4 separate regions of the Homo sapiens genome follow, and all the other regions are linked to region 4. The links are contacts of gene promoters, found by promoter capture Hi-C in blood cells and fetal thymus (Javierre and others, 2016). All regions are on one chromosome and are shown on one strand. Each heading gives the region's core, a stretch centred on a gene start or on the middle of the fragment in contact. The rest is flanking DNA. Distances are from core to core; before and after follow the strand shown. Region 1 overlaps TRANK1 (tetratricopeptide repeat and ankyrin repeat containing 1). Region 2 has its middle 1.6 kb from the start of EDEM1. Region 3 overlaps CRBN (cereblon). Region 4 holds the start of SGO1 (shugoshin 1).

Region 1 (2,913 bases), core at 172-2,671, about 17 Mb after region 4:
GTAAGAACAAACCGGTGGTCTGTCATGGTTCTGCAAATACAGAAAACAGTCTGTGAAGTCCCCCCATTCGGTGCTGGCTGCTGCCATCAGGAAGGGGGTTTCAGTAGGAAATGACTCATTCATGCTTATCAGATCAGTCTCCCAGACCCCAAACGAGCCTGGAACATTTACAATATATAAATCTGTCCTTCCTCACTCCCAAATACTCTGCTCCCGTCTTTTAATGACAATTGTTCTCAACAGGTTGGTTCCATCTCTCACTGATCTCCACGCATAATCATTTCATCTCCATTGCCAGCCCTCAGAAGAATCGGCTTCAGGTAAGAGGCCTGTGCAGGCCCTGGGAGCAGGGCCTATAAGGCAGGGAATTCCATAGTCTTGGTACCCACAGTGTAGACCAAAGGGGATGCAAGAACTCTGGGTGAGTACGGCCCTGGCCCCACAGACTCCTGCCTGTGAGGAGGGGCACAGCTGGAAGATGGCCAAAGGAGGGCCCTTTAAAGCGCAGCAGGGCAGGGATGGCTCTGGCCTTGGTCTAGAGGTAATATAGCTGCAAGTTAATGCTGAAACCAGGCCAGAAGAAAAAGGAAAATTCAAAGCAAACCACAATATGTCAAGAGAAGCCCAGCTACCAATGGAATATAAGACACACAAATAAAAAAAGCAAGCCTTATGACTTCTTTTTTATTTAATATCTTTGAGACAGAGTCTCACTCTGTCGCCCAAGCTGGAATGCAGTGGTGCAATCTCAGCTCACTGCAACCTCCACCTCCTGGGTTCAAGCACTTCTGCCTCAGCCTCCCGAGTAGCTGGGATTACAGGTGCACACCACCACACCCGGCTAATTTTTGTATTTCTAGTAGAGATGGGGTTTCACCATGTTGGCCAGGATGGTCTCGAATTCCTGACCTCGTGATCCGCCTGCCTCAGCTTCCCAAAGTGCTGGGATTACATAATTAAGATATTAAATAGGCCAGGCGCAGTGGCTCATGCCTGTAATCGCAGCACTTCGGGAGGCCGAGGCCGAGGCGAGGAGTTCGAGACCATCCTGGCCAACATGGTGAAACCCCATCTCTACTAAAATACAAAAAAATTATCTGGGTGTGGTGGGGTGCACCTGTAGTCCCAGCTACATGGCAGGCTGAGGCAGGAGAATCGTTTGAACCCAGGAGGAGGAGATTTCAGTGAGCCAAGATCGCACCACTGCACTCCAGCCTGGCAACACAGCAAGACTCCGTCTCAAAAAAAGAAAAAAAAAAATCTTAATCGTAAAAATAATACAAATCACTGTAGAATAATACAAAAATCACTGTAGATAATGCAGACAAGCACAAAAATATTAATAAACAAAGGAAAAATCACCTCCATTACTGTCCCCACCCTCGATGTTTTGTGTCTGGCTTCTTTCATGGCCCAACATTCCCTCTAGGTGAAGGGATGAGGCCCCAGAAGCACACAGGAGGCAGTGGGGTCAGGCAGTGAGGGATCAGCAAGGGAGCAGTGACCGCAAGTGTAAGAGATGCCATGGTGTCCATCCCAGACACTCTGGCCAGTGCAGCCATTCCCAGCTGCAATGTCTGTTGGCTGCAGCTAGAGGTTCTCAGCACCCTGTTCTCCAGAGATTTATCCTCAGCCTAATGAGAGCTACCCTCTCCCCAGGAAGTTACACCCATACTAGGGACTGAACTTCCCCCATCCCCAACTGCCAAAAAAAAAAAAATCCCTGGGTAGGCCGGGCACAGTGGCTCATGCCTGTAATCCCAGCACTTTAGGAGGCCGAGCGGGCGGATCACGAGGTCAGGAGATCGAGACCATCCCGGCTAACACGGTGAAACCCCATCTCTACTAAAAATACAAAAAATTAGCCGGGCGTGGTGGCAGGTGCCTGTAGTCCCAGCTACTCGGGAGGCTGAGGCAGGAGAATGGCGTGAACCCGGGAGGCGGCGGAGCTTGCAGTGAGCCGAGATCGTGCCGTTGCACTCTAGCCTGGGAGACAGAGCAAGACTCTGTCTCAAAAAAAAAAAAAAAAATCCCTGGGTTGAAGCCCTACCCCTCAATGTGACAATATTTGAACATGGAACCATTGGGAGGTAATTATGTTTAGCTGAGGTCATGAGGGTGGAGTCCTCACAATGGAATAAGAAGAGACGCTGGAGAGCTTGCTCTCTCCTCTTTGCACGTAACACAGTGAGAAGGCAACCATCTACAAGCCAGGAAGACAGCCCTCACAGGGGGCAGCTTGATCTTGGACTTCCCAGCCTGTAGAACTTTGAAAAATAAATTTCTGTTGTTTAAGCCACCCAGTCTGTGCTATTTTGTTATGGTAGCGCAAGCAGACTAATATAGCCCACTCCCTAGGATGACTGCCGGGAGCCAGACAGCCTAAAACCAGTGACTGACTGATATGAGAATCAAAAGGTTAACCTCCTTGCCTCAAGATGGAACCAGCTCTGCAGTATGATTCATGCTCCAGAGCTGCCTATGGGATCAGGCAAATCTTGCTTGGTTTAGACACCATCCCTGCTTAGAGCCTTCCTTGTGCCATCCTGCCTCCCTCAGTCCCCTTTCTCCTGCAAGTACGCTGTAAATCACATGCACCTGAGTCTCAGTGTTAGCTAGCTGTGGCAGGAAGGCCAGCAGCAGGTGATGGGCAAGGGGAACAGTGTCAGGAAGGTCCCACAAAAGGCAACATGAGGGTCCAGGCAGAAGTCCCAGTAGGGGTCACACAGTAAGTGGTGGAGCTGAGCTTTGAACACACATAGTGTGGGGTCAGTCTACAACCATAAACACTACACAATACTACCTCTTTCTAAGAAAGCTGAATGTTTGCCTTGATCGAGGATCTCTAGACCCAGCTCTGACACAATTCTGATATGTACCAGGACAAGGCAGAACTGCAGAAACTACAGACAC
Region 2 (3,098 bases), core at 334-2,833, about 15 Mb before region 4:
ATTGGCTATTTACAGCCACGATCATAGGAAACGCAGCTTCAAACTACTGGCTCAGGGGATCTTCCTGCCTCAGCCTCTCGAGTATCCTGTATCTTGCTAACAGAGCATGTTGACAAACTTGGATTTGTGCCCATCAAATAAGTTTGAACTGTAATTATATACTTTTTTTTAGGCCTTCAGCTTTGCAAAACCTCTGCTTTTGAAATACTTTTTTTTTTTTGAGACGCAGTCTCACTCTCTTGCCCAGAATGGAGTGTGGTGGCGCTATCTCAGCTCACTGCAACCTCTGCCTCCTGGATTCAAGTGATTCTCGTGCCTCAGCCTCCTGAGTATCTGGGATTACAGACGCCCACCACCACGCCCGGGTAGTTGTATTTTTAGTAGAGATGGGGTTTCATCATTTTGGCCAGGTTGGTCTTGAACTCCGGACCTTAAGTGATCTGCCTGCCTTGGCCTCCCAAAGTTCTGGGATTACAGGTGTGAGCCACCACGCCCAGCCGGGTGCTAGTTTTAAAAGTTTCAGAGTTGAAAAGTATTAATAGGTCTCACTATGTAGCACGGTTGTAAGTACTTTATATATATATATGATGTAATCACAACTGTGATAAACATTGTCCTCATCACTCACCCATTTTATGGATGAGGAAACAAGTCCTAGAAAAGTAACTTCCCAAGGTCACTCTTAGGGCAGAGCTACGATTTGAACACCTGACTTCTGAATGTGAGTTCTTAGTTGTCATCTCTTTGCATTCCCCAGAGTAAAGCCATTTTTACACTGAAAAAGTGCCTCCTTTCCTTTTTTATCAGTCCCTGATGCGCTTGTGAGATTACCGGAAAACCTGTCACAAATCAAACTGTTTATCTTAAAGAGTTGATTTTCAAGACTGGAGTTTTCTGATTGGGTATGGGTGTTGTCCCAATCTTATCAGTACATTTAGCTTAAGGAGAGTCCTAATCGAAAGGACTAGCACAAAATAACCCATTTCTTTCATTTCAGTTTCATTCCAGAAGGAAACACTTTCTGAACCTAGACCCTAATGCCTAGGCTATGCCTTGCAGGGCACTAATGTCAAAACTATTGCTTTTGGGTGGCTTGGAAAGAGCAGAGGGACCTGTCTGCTCAAGGGCCAGCTATTTGAAGTGCAAATTGCCCTAAAGTGTAGTAACTCCCTTTCTGCCTAGAGCCAACAGGCTCTGAGAATTGAGCCCCCAACCTGATTTCTTCCATTATGGCTTGTGGAATAAGCTTTACAGTTTTCTATGAAGATTAAATAAGCACACATGTCAAAGTGTTTTGAAAACCATCAGTTTTACTATGAAAAGCATCTTTCAGGAGTTGGATGGTTTTCTCTGGTTATTAAAAGATTTATTTTTATAAGAGTTTTTCTCTAACATCAAGACAGAAGCTGTCCTCAATGTGGCCTGCAGTTAACCAGGTCAAATTTAAGTTAAAATTTGCAATAAAGTAGCCCCGGAAGGAAACATGCAACATGCAACTGAATATTCACATTCAGTTTGCAAGTTCCAGGAAGGCAGAAGTTCAGGATCAAGGGCTGGAGCTGGGCTGCCAGCACAGTCCCTAGGCATCCTTCACAGAGGGGAAAAAGCAGAAGCTGTGTAGTCTAAAGACCCTGGCTCAAGCTGTCTTCGTAATCTTTTTGCTGCTTGGGCTGCTCTCGATGTCTCAATGTTGGGAAAGAACAAGGCTCAGCCAACAGTAAGGACCTTCCTATGTGCCAGCTACCATGTGCTGTAATCAAGTGTTTTCTTAGTTCCCCTTACACCTCCTCTGTATTTCAGAAAGTCCTCTACCCTGAAAATGTGATGAGAGTGCCACATGACAACTTACCTTCTTATGCACTCCATTGGTCGGCCATTCAGCCAATATCAGATTTGGGGGTCTAGTCAGGTCTTGCTTCCCAAGCTTTTCAGAAACCCTGATGAAACAGGCATAGGGTCTAAACTTAGGGAGGGCAAAACTTACAGCCAACTCCAAATGCAGCAAGCAAAATAAATAAGCGCCTAAACCATTGAATCTTTATGTGAAAGCCATAGCCCTTTAGAGCTAACATTTGCAATCTTCTTAATTATAGGAAGTAGATACAGAGGGGTAAAGTTATTTAACTGGGAATCTACCCCACACCTCAAAGGTTAGGTCACTAATTGCGGGTGCACAGGAGAGATGGTAGGATGGGAGGGACAGGAGAAGACATGTTTAGATATATCTGGTAAATAATTTGGTGGTGGTGGGAGCCTTCATTCCCACCCCCAACCCGCCCCCCCCTTTTAAAAAAATCCTATTTCCGAGACAAAAGCAATATAACATAACTTTGTATTTCCTGAAACTTCCAGTTTCTAAGAACTGTCCAAGAGTACTTACACGCACATTCCCGAGACCGTTGGAGTTGTTCGATAGGTCTAGGGAGGGATCTGGGGATACGTGTTTTACAAGCACCATGAGCGATTCTTCAAAGTTGGGTGTTTGAATCAAAAGAGCAGAATTCATGATACCGTTTTGTGCACTCCTTGAGCTAAAAGGTAGTATCCCACCCTCTCCATAAACAGACACCTAAGTTATAAAACTTATGCGCTCGATATGCAAAAATAGCTCGTTTTATACAGAAACGATCCTTTCCTTCTTTTCCTTATATATCTTTTAACTGTCATCACTCCTAACCTAGACCTAGAGTGGCTTTTTCCGGTCCTAGCTCTGCCGGACACACGCTCTGCCCAGAGACCCGATCCACCCAAGGCCAGGCGGTCTGGGGTCACGTCTGTGTCCAGCGTCCGGCGGGCGCTGCCGTGCCGCTCTCCCATTGGCTGGAAGTTCCCTCGCGGGCCGGCGCGGCTCCTGCTCGCCACGCCAGCCCATCGGGCTACGGACCGCCCAGGGGGGCGGGGCTTGGGAGTTGGGGCGGGGCCCGGGTGAGGGGCGGGGCCTCGGGGCGTCGCGGACGTCCTGGCGGCCTACTGCGTGGGAGGGAGTCCTGGGCCGCGCCCCGCGAGGCCGGGCCCAGGCCGGGCCAATCCCGGGCCACTGGGCGGGCGACCGTGGGGCCTGGCCGGCCCGCCGGAGAGCCTGGGGGTTGGGGACGATG
Region 3 (3,350 bases), core at 448-2,947, about 17 Mb before region 4:
TTATTTGCCATGGGATACTTAAAATTCAGCTTCAATTTAAAGTGGTACAACCTATGAATTTTGAGAGAGAGGGAAAGAAAAGACCACTCTTTTGGAAAAGTAATCCTTTACGTTAAAATAAAAAAGCACTACTTCTCTATAATGAAGACAGTTATTGAAACTAAGATTCCAGAAATGTTTTTCATCAAATATAAATGATTAAAAATTTTTCAAATACCAGAAAGTTAAATTGTGTATGAAGGTGAAGAGCTGAGTTAGATGGTAATGAAATGAACAAAAATACTCCAACTTGCACTATCAAACTTCTACTTAACCAAATTCCTAACCTCACATTCTTACCCAACCTCTCCTGTACATGCGAAATAACAGCCTGCTTTGGCTTCAACACTGACCACTGCAATTACCCATGAGAGGGAATGTATTAAGCAAATGGACTCTAATATTTTACCTGTATGCAAGAACAGCAAAGGTTCTATCTTTCTGAATTAAATTCCGCACCATACTGACTTCTTGAGGGTGAAAAAGCTGAAGAGGTAATGTCTGTCCGGGAATCAGGATCATCATCACTTGTGGAAGAACTGGAATCACCTGACAGCTGTCGTCATCGTGCAAAGTCCTGCCATGAAATTCTTCCATATCAGCACCTAGGTACTATATAAAAACATATATAGGTATAGTGTCATGATCGATATGTAATAAAAATGTAAGCTCAACAGACTAAAGAGCAAATCACATTAAAAGAAATACAGGCCGGGCACAGTGGCTCACACCTGTAATTCCAGCACTTTGGGAGGCCGAGGTAGGCGGATCACCTGAGGTCAGGAGTTCAAGACCAACCTGGCCAACATGGTGGAACCCTGTTGCTACTAAAAATACAAAAATTAGCCAGGTGTGGTGGTGGACACCTGTAATCCCAGCTAATCGGGAGGCTGAGGCAGGGGAATCACTTGAACCTGGAAGGTGGAGGCTGCAGTGAGCTGAGATTGTGCCACTGCACTCACTCGAGCTTGGGCGACAGAGCAACACTCTGTCTCAAAAAAAAAGAAAAAAATACAAATGGGGTTACAAACACTTAATAAACGTGGTATATAAGCATCCCATGTTAAAATATAATTTTTAATCTAACTTTAACTCTTAGAAGAATTTCTAATCTTTTATGAATATATCACAAACACAGAAATTCAAGAATTTTTTTAGTACAAAGTATTATTTTTACCAAGAAATATCTCTATGCCCACATATCACAAACAGTAAGTATAAAATGTTAGTATGTTCAATAACACTCTAGTACCTAGAAGTACAGAGAAGTATTTAATAGCTCAATTACCAGAAAGAGTATAAAGAGCAACAATTCCTCAAACAATTCTACCACAACATAGTATTAAGCTTCTTAAAAATTACAGTTAAATGTTTATCTACTGGCAAATAGCCCATGTCCTCATCCACAATTTCTGATATCTAGTAATACAAATATCAGTCACTTGTTTTTATGAACTTTTATCTACATTTAAATGTATATCTATTATATTAGATCTGTCACTAAATTACATACTGTATGTGATGTCGGCAGACTGGTGTCAAAATTTATGATGTTTGGTTTTTTGGCTTCTTTACTATCCTGGTCTTCAACTTCCATTTCATCTTCTTCCTCACTCTCTGCTATAAAAGTAGAATATTGTAAGAAAAAAAAAAAGATGAATGAAAACCTTTCAAACATGTAATTCCTTCTTCAAAAGAGGGGTACTTCTAAAACCACATGCATTTGGTAAACTCTACAGCACCGTGAAGAGGGAGCCAGAGGACTGGGGTCCGTGCTGGGCTCTGTCAGTAGCTATTTTTTTTTTTTAAGTCAACTGTGAATTTTAGAATAGTTTAACATTTACAGAGAAGTGTAAAGATAGTACAGAATGCTCCCGTGTGTCACACATCCTTTTCCCCTATAGTTAATTTATATTAGTATGGTACATTTGCCACAACGAAGGAATCAGTCTTGGTACATTACTCTAACTAAGCTTCATATTTTAAATGGATTCCCTTAGTTTTTATCTAGTCTTTTTGCGTTCCAGGATCCCACTTTACATTTAGTTATCAGGTCCCCCTACCCTCCTCTGGGCTAGGGGGGTTTTCAGACTTTGCTTGTTTCTGAGTTTTGAGGAGTACTGGTCAGGCCTTTTGTAGAGTATCCCTCAACTGGGTTTTGTTTGATGTAATTCCCATGATTAGACTGAGGATACGTGTTTTAGGGAGGAAGACCACAGAAGTGAAGTGTTGTTATTCTTTTCCTTTTTAGAAATGGGGTCTGTTGCCAATGTGCTGTTTTTATTACATATCCAGCCTATATATTATGAACTATTCCTGCTGTTAACCTTGATCACCTGGCTACAGCAGTGTGTGTCAGGTTTTTCCGCTGTAAAGTTCCTTTCCCCCCTCCTTTTCACATTGTACCCTTCGGAAGCAAATCACTAGGTGTAGCCTCCACTTCAGGGGTGATGAGTTATGCTCCACTCCCTTGAAGAGGAAATGTAAGTTATTTAAAATTCTTCTATATGGGAGATTTTTCTCTTCTCCCTCACCAGTAACTAATTTTAACACCTTAGACAACTCATTCTGCCCAATTAAATTTTAGTTTCCTCATCTGCAAAATGATAGGCTTCAACAAGTCAACCTCTAACGTTCTCTCAAACTCTCAACTTCAATCAGTTCCTACATAAGTAAGAAAAGAAACAAAGCAGGCAAGATCTGTTAATTAAAACTGAGAGAAAGATAACCTAGCAGGAAGAATTTCACAGCATTTTTCTAGTGACAACATTTCCCTGGCAGTCGCTACATTATCTTAAAATGAAGGCCAGGTGTGGTGGCTCACACCTGTAATCCCAGCACTTTGGGAGGACGAGGCAGGCAGATCACTTGAGGTCAGGAGTTCAAGACCAGCCTGGCCAACATGTTGCAACCCCATCTCTACTAAAAACACAAAAGTTAGCCGGGTGTGGTTGTAGGTGCCTGTAATCCCAGCTACTGGGGAGGCTGAGGCAGGAGAATCGCTTGAACCCAGGAGGTGGAGGTTGCAGTGAGCTGAGATTGTGCTATTGCACTCCAGCCTGGGCGACAGAGCAAGACTCCATCTCAAAAGAAAGAAACAAAGAAAATTTTGCAATCATTTGCATACTATTTTGCTTAATTTTAAATTTAAAAATAAAGTTTGCATGAAGCATAAAACATTTTAAAAGAATGTCTTAGAAAACCAGATGTTACCAATGACAGCAAAGAAAATTAGAAAACGCTACACAATACATATGCTATTGTACTAACTGTGAGTCTGTCCTTTTCATACAAACTATGAGTAAATTTCC
Region 4 (3,256 bases), core at 573-3,072:
ACACTTTTTATAGAAAATGTTTAGGACCAACTTTTACTGCTTAAGCTTACAGCATTAGTTCTGAGGCAATTATATATTTGGGTTTTGTTTTCCAGCTCTTCTCTAATGATTAATTCATCAGATTAGGTCATTCAACTATTTTTCCATACTCTTTAAACGCAATTATCACTTATGATATGCACACAGTCTCAAGAAAGTCAAGGTACTCCTTAGAGGTTTAAACTATGTAGCACTACATACAATTTTAATAGGCTATTGTAACAAGTACAGAGCTAGAGCAGGAACTTGGGCAGAGGAACACTCTAGTATTCTCAAACTGTGGCTAAAAGTTAGGGCTGTTAACTCCCAGTAAATTATGAACATAACAAATCAGACATTAAATATTGTTGTACATACAGTTAAACGTTGAGTATTAAATACATAACTATACTTAATCTTTCAACGTTGCAAATCAGGTAGGCTTTAGCATGCTACTAAACATGTCAAACCACTTTTCACAAACATCTTTTACGCTAGATTGCACTTTGCAGATCTTAAAATTGCAAAAAAAAAAGACTTGTTTCCAATAACAATCTATGCACAGAATTTTCACTACAAAGGATATCTTCATCTCCTCTACGATAGTCAAATATTTTCCTAAACCTTACACTTAATCTTGAGTATTTCCTCCAGGCCTTATTTTCCTCTATGCAGTGTCTGGAATCTTAAATATAGGTATTGTAGATACCACTTAAGAACTTTCTTTCTACCAAGGTATATACAATATGTACTGGGAGGTTCCTAGCAGAGATAGGGTAGCTATTTTTAAAAGCACGAACGGTAAAGGGGTTGTTTTACACAATTAAGTTAGAATTGGAGATGTTTGAGAGTCATACAGATTAAGTAACGGATCTAGTTTAGTTAAGGTATTTTAAAGGCAAAGCCTTACCTAAAAAGCTTTCGTTATTACTTTTAATCAAGTTAAAAATCACAAAAGAAACTTGCCATATCAAAAGTTTTATATCCTGTCTAAATAAGGCGATGGTTATTAGCAGGGGGTGTGGTAGACAGAAGGGATGAAAGCAAAGACAGACCACAGCGCGAGATGACGGTCTCAATCTGTACAGTACTCGTGTAAGCGCTCTGGATTTAAAGAACCTAGCATATTTGATCTCCGTCCATAATTCTCCAATTAGTCCTGCTGCGAAGACAGCCAGGTAGGATACTAGTCAGTGCCGGCCTCTCCAGGGTAAGTGAGGAAGAGAATGGCCTGGACAAGGAGGACGTCAACGGTATCACGCTGCACAAAGAACTGCTGTCAATTTTCTTGTGTCCTTACGTTGAGCCAGGCTTTTAGCTATTGTAAAAGCTTTATTTGCACATCACTTAATCTACACAATTTTGCAAAGTAGGAAATTAGGGTCTCCATGGAAGCCGGAACATCTGAAAGCGCAGATCGAGTGGCTGAACGGCGAAAAGCGCGGCGAGTGGGACTCCACGGCCCGAGCTTTCGGCCACCGAATTTAGAATGATACTGAAAACCGAAGGGAAGTCAAACAGGGATCACTACGCCCTTGTTTCGCACCTTAAAACCTACTTCTTCCTCTTTCAGGGACTCCAGGAAGGCCGGGGGGAGGTGGGGCTGGCGGAAGTGGACGCGGCGACCCTCCTGCCGCAGGCGCGTCCAGAACGATACCTTGGCCACTACTTCTGCAACAGCTATCTTCCTCCTCCTCACATTTCAAGGCTCTTCGAAGCTCTCCAGCCACGGCTAGCCCCGCGCACTGGGCCCTCCAGGACCGTACCACCGTCCGCCGTCGCCTGGAACTACCGCCGCCACATTCGAAATTTTCCGCCTCGCTCCTCCATTGGTTGGCTGGGAGGCGGTCACGTGGCGCAGGATGCACCCAACACCACCGTCGCAGGCAGAGTCCCGCCCCGCCAGGCGACGTCACGTGACGCACATTCGCTCAAGTCCACATCCGGGCATCCACCTGGCCCTGGGGCGGAGCCTGCGGTCGGGTCTCGGCGACCCGCCGGGACTTTCTAATCAGAGTCGTGGGGATTTTACGGGTGGAGTTACTCCGAAACCTTTAAGGCCGAGTGTGATAGGTAGTTCAAAGCTTCCTGTTTCTTCAGTCTGACAGCTTCAAATGTCCCGGGTTGTGCTCAAAGCCTCCCTCTTGTGAGAAGAATCTCTTTGGTTGCCTGTTAAAGCGGTCAGCCAGCTTGCAACACGGAAGCAGCTTTTAGAGGAATTAAAACCAAAACAAGGAGCAAATTCTGGATTAAAAAGGTATTAGGGAAACTGCAGATACCTGAAAATTCTAGCTCCATGTTTCTCTTTGCCGGCTATCTCTGGCTCTTTAACTCTTCTCGAGAAATGGCACCAACATCCATCCAGTTACCGACTAGAAGCCTGAGAAATCGTCCTTAATGATTATTTATCCTCTCTTAACCTTTGCCCGTCCAGTCGGTCACACGATCTTCTCAACTCTGCTTTCCAAGTTTCTCTCATGCCCATCTTTTTCCCCCCAATCCAGCTTCCAGCCTAATCTCATTCCCTAAATTGCACTAGTACCCACTCTGACCGCAGACTCCACTCCCTATATTCTTCATAGATTAATATTTTTACAAAACAAGTATCAAATAGGAAACTTTACAATGGCTCCCTATTGCATTTAAGGTGAATTTCAAACTCCTTTAAGATATTTTGTCCTTAAAGAGCCCCATGATTCCTGGTTCCATCACTTGTACATTTTCTTTAATTTTCTTAAAATTCTTGCCACTTTTGCCAATGCTGTTCTGTCAAGAACACTCTTTCCCTTGGCCGAACTTACTCCTATGTATACTGAAGTTTCACTGTACAGATGAATTCTTCCAGAAAGACTTATCTACCCCTAAAGCCCCTGAGTGTCTGCTTTACACTTTCTTAGTGCCCTGCATTTTCCCCTTGGTATTCCTTGTGACACTGACTTGTCGTTCATTGCCTGTTTCTTGAAGTTGAATAAGGGCAGGAACTACATCTGCTTTGTTCATAGCTAAATTGTCAGCATCTCGTTGCAATTTGAAGTAAGTAGTAAATATTCACTGGGACAATAAAGGAACAAATAAATGAAAACGAAACAAATGTTTTGAATCTAGGCATTCTTTATGAAGGTGTGTTGTTGTTTTTTAAAGGTAGCTAACACATGCTTGCTCTAGTCTGGGTACCCATCCTGGCTTGAGTGGAAGAGGCTGAAACACCCTTCTCCAGCCAACAACTCCCTCGTTTTCC

Evidence for each region. Contacts are between HindIII fragments. The CHiCAGO score rates a contact against its expected background, and 5 or more counts as called.
Region 1: a contact is called between a fragment that was not itself captured here and the fragment with the promoter of SGO1 in region 4, in 1 of 17 cell types (total CD4 T cells). The highest score is 6.3, in total CD4 T cells.
Region 2: a contact is called between a fragment that was not itself captured here and the fragment with the promoter of SGO1 in region 4, in 2 of 17 cell types (non-activated CD4 T cells and naive CD8 T cells). The highest score is 7.6, in non-activated CD4 T cells.
Region 3: a fragment that was not itself captured here is called in contact with the fragment with the promoter of SGO1 in region 4 in 1 of 17 cell types (activated CD4 T cells); the score reaches 5.8 in activated CD4 T cells.

What each region holds. Positions count from the first base shown.
Region 1 is chr3:36,903,278-36,906,190 of GRCh38, forward strand. All of the region lies in intron 2 of TRANK1 (tetratricopeptide repeat and ankyrin repeat containing 1), which reads right to left. Among named protein-coding and RNA genes, the nearest start is that of TRANK1, 40 kb to the right of the region's middle. The HindIII fragment of the contact is 3,946 bases long and covers 1-2,913 here.
Region 2 is chr3:5,184,575-5,187,672 of GRCh38, forward strand. No RefSeq gene overlaps it. Among named protein-coding and RNA genes, the nearest start is that of EDEM1, 1.6 kb to the right of the region's middle. RefSeq lists an enhancer at 1,591-1,650 and a silencer at 2,762-3,098. The HindIII fragment of the contact is 678 bases long and covers 1,245-1,922 here.
Region 3 is chr3:3,173,611-3,176,960 of GRCh38, forward strand. It overlaps CRBN (cereblon), which reads right to left. Exons shown (of 11, transcript NM_016302.4): 2 at 1,553-1,659; 3 at 449-651. Among named protein-coding and RNA genes, the nearest start is that of CRBN, 4.4 kb to the right of the region's middle. The HindIII fragment of the contact is 626 bases long and covers 1,385-2,010 here.
Region 4 is chr3:20,184,384-20,187,639 of GRCh38, forward strand. SGO1 (shugoshin 1) reads right to left here and starts at 1,823. Exons shown (of 8, transcript NM_001199251.3): 1 at 1,565-1,823. It overlaps SGO1-AS1 (SGO1 antisense RNA 1), which reads left to right. Exons shown (of 4, transcript NR_132785.1): 4 at 1,592-1,732. RefSeq lists enhancers at 1,541-2,220, 2,241-2,300. The HindIII fragment of the contact is 754 bases long and covers 1,347-2,100 here.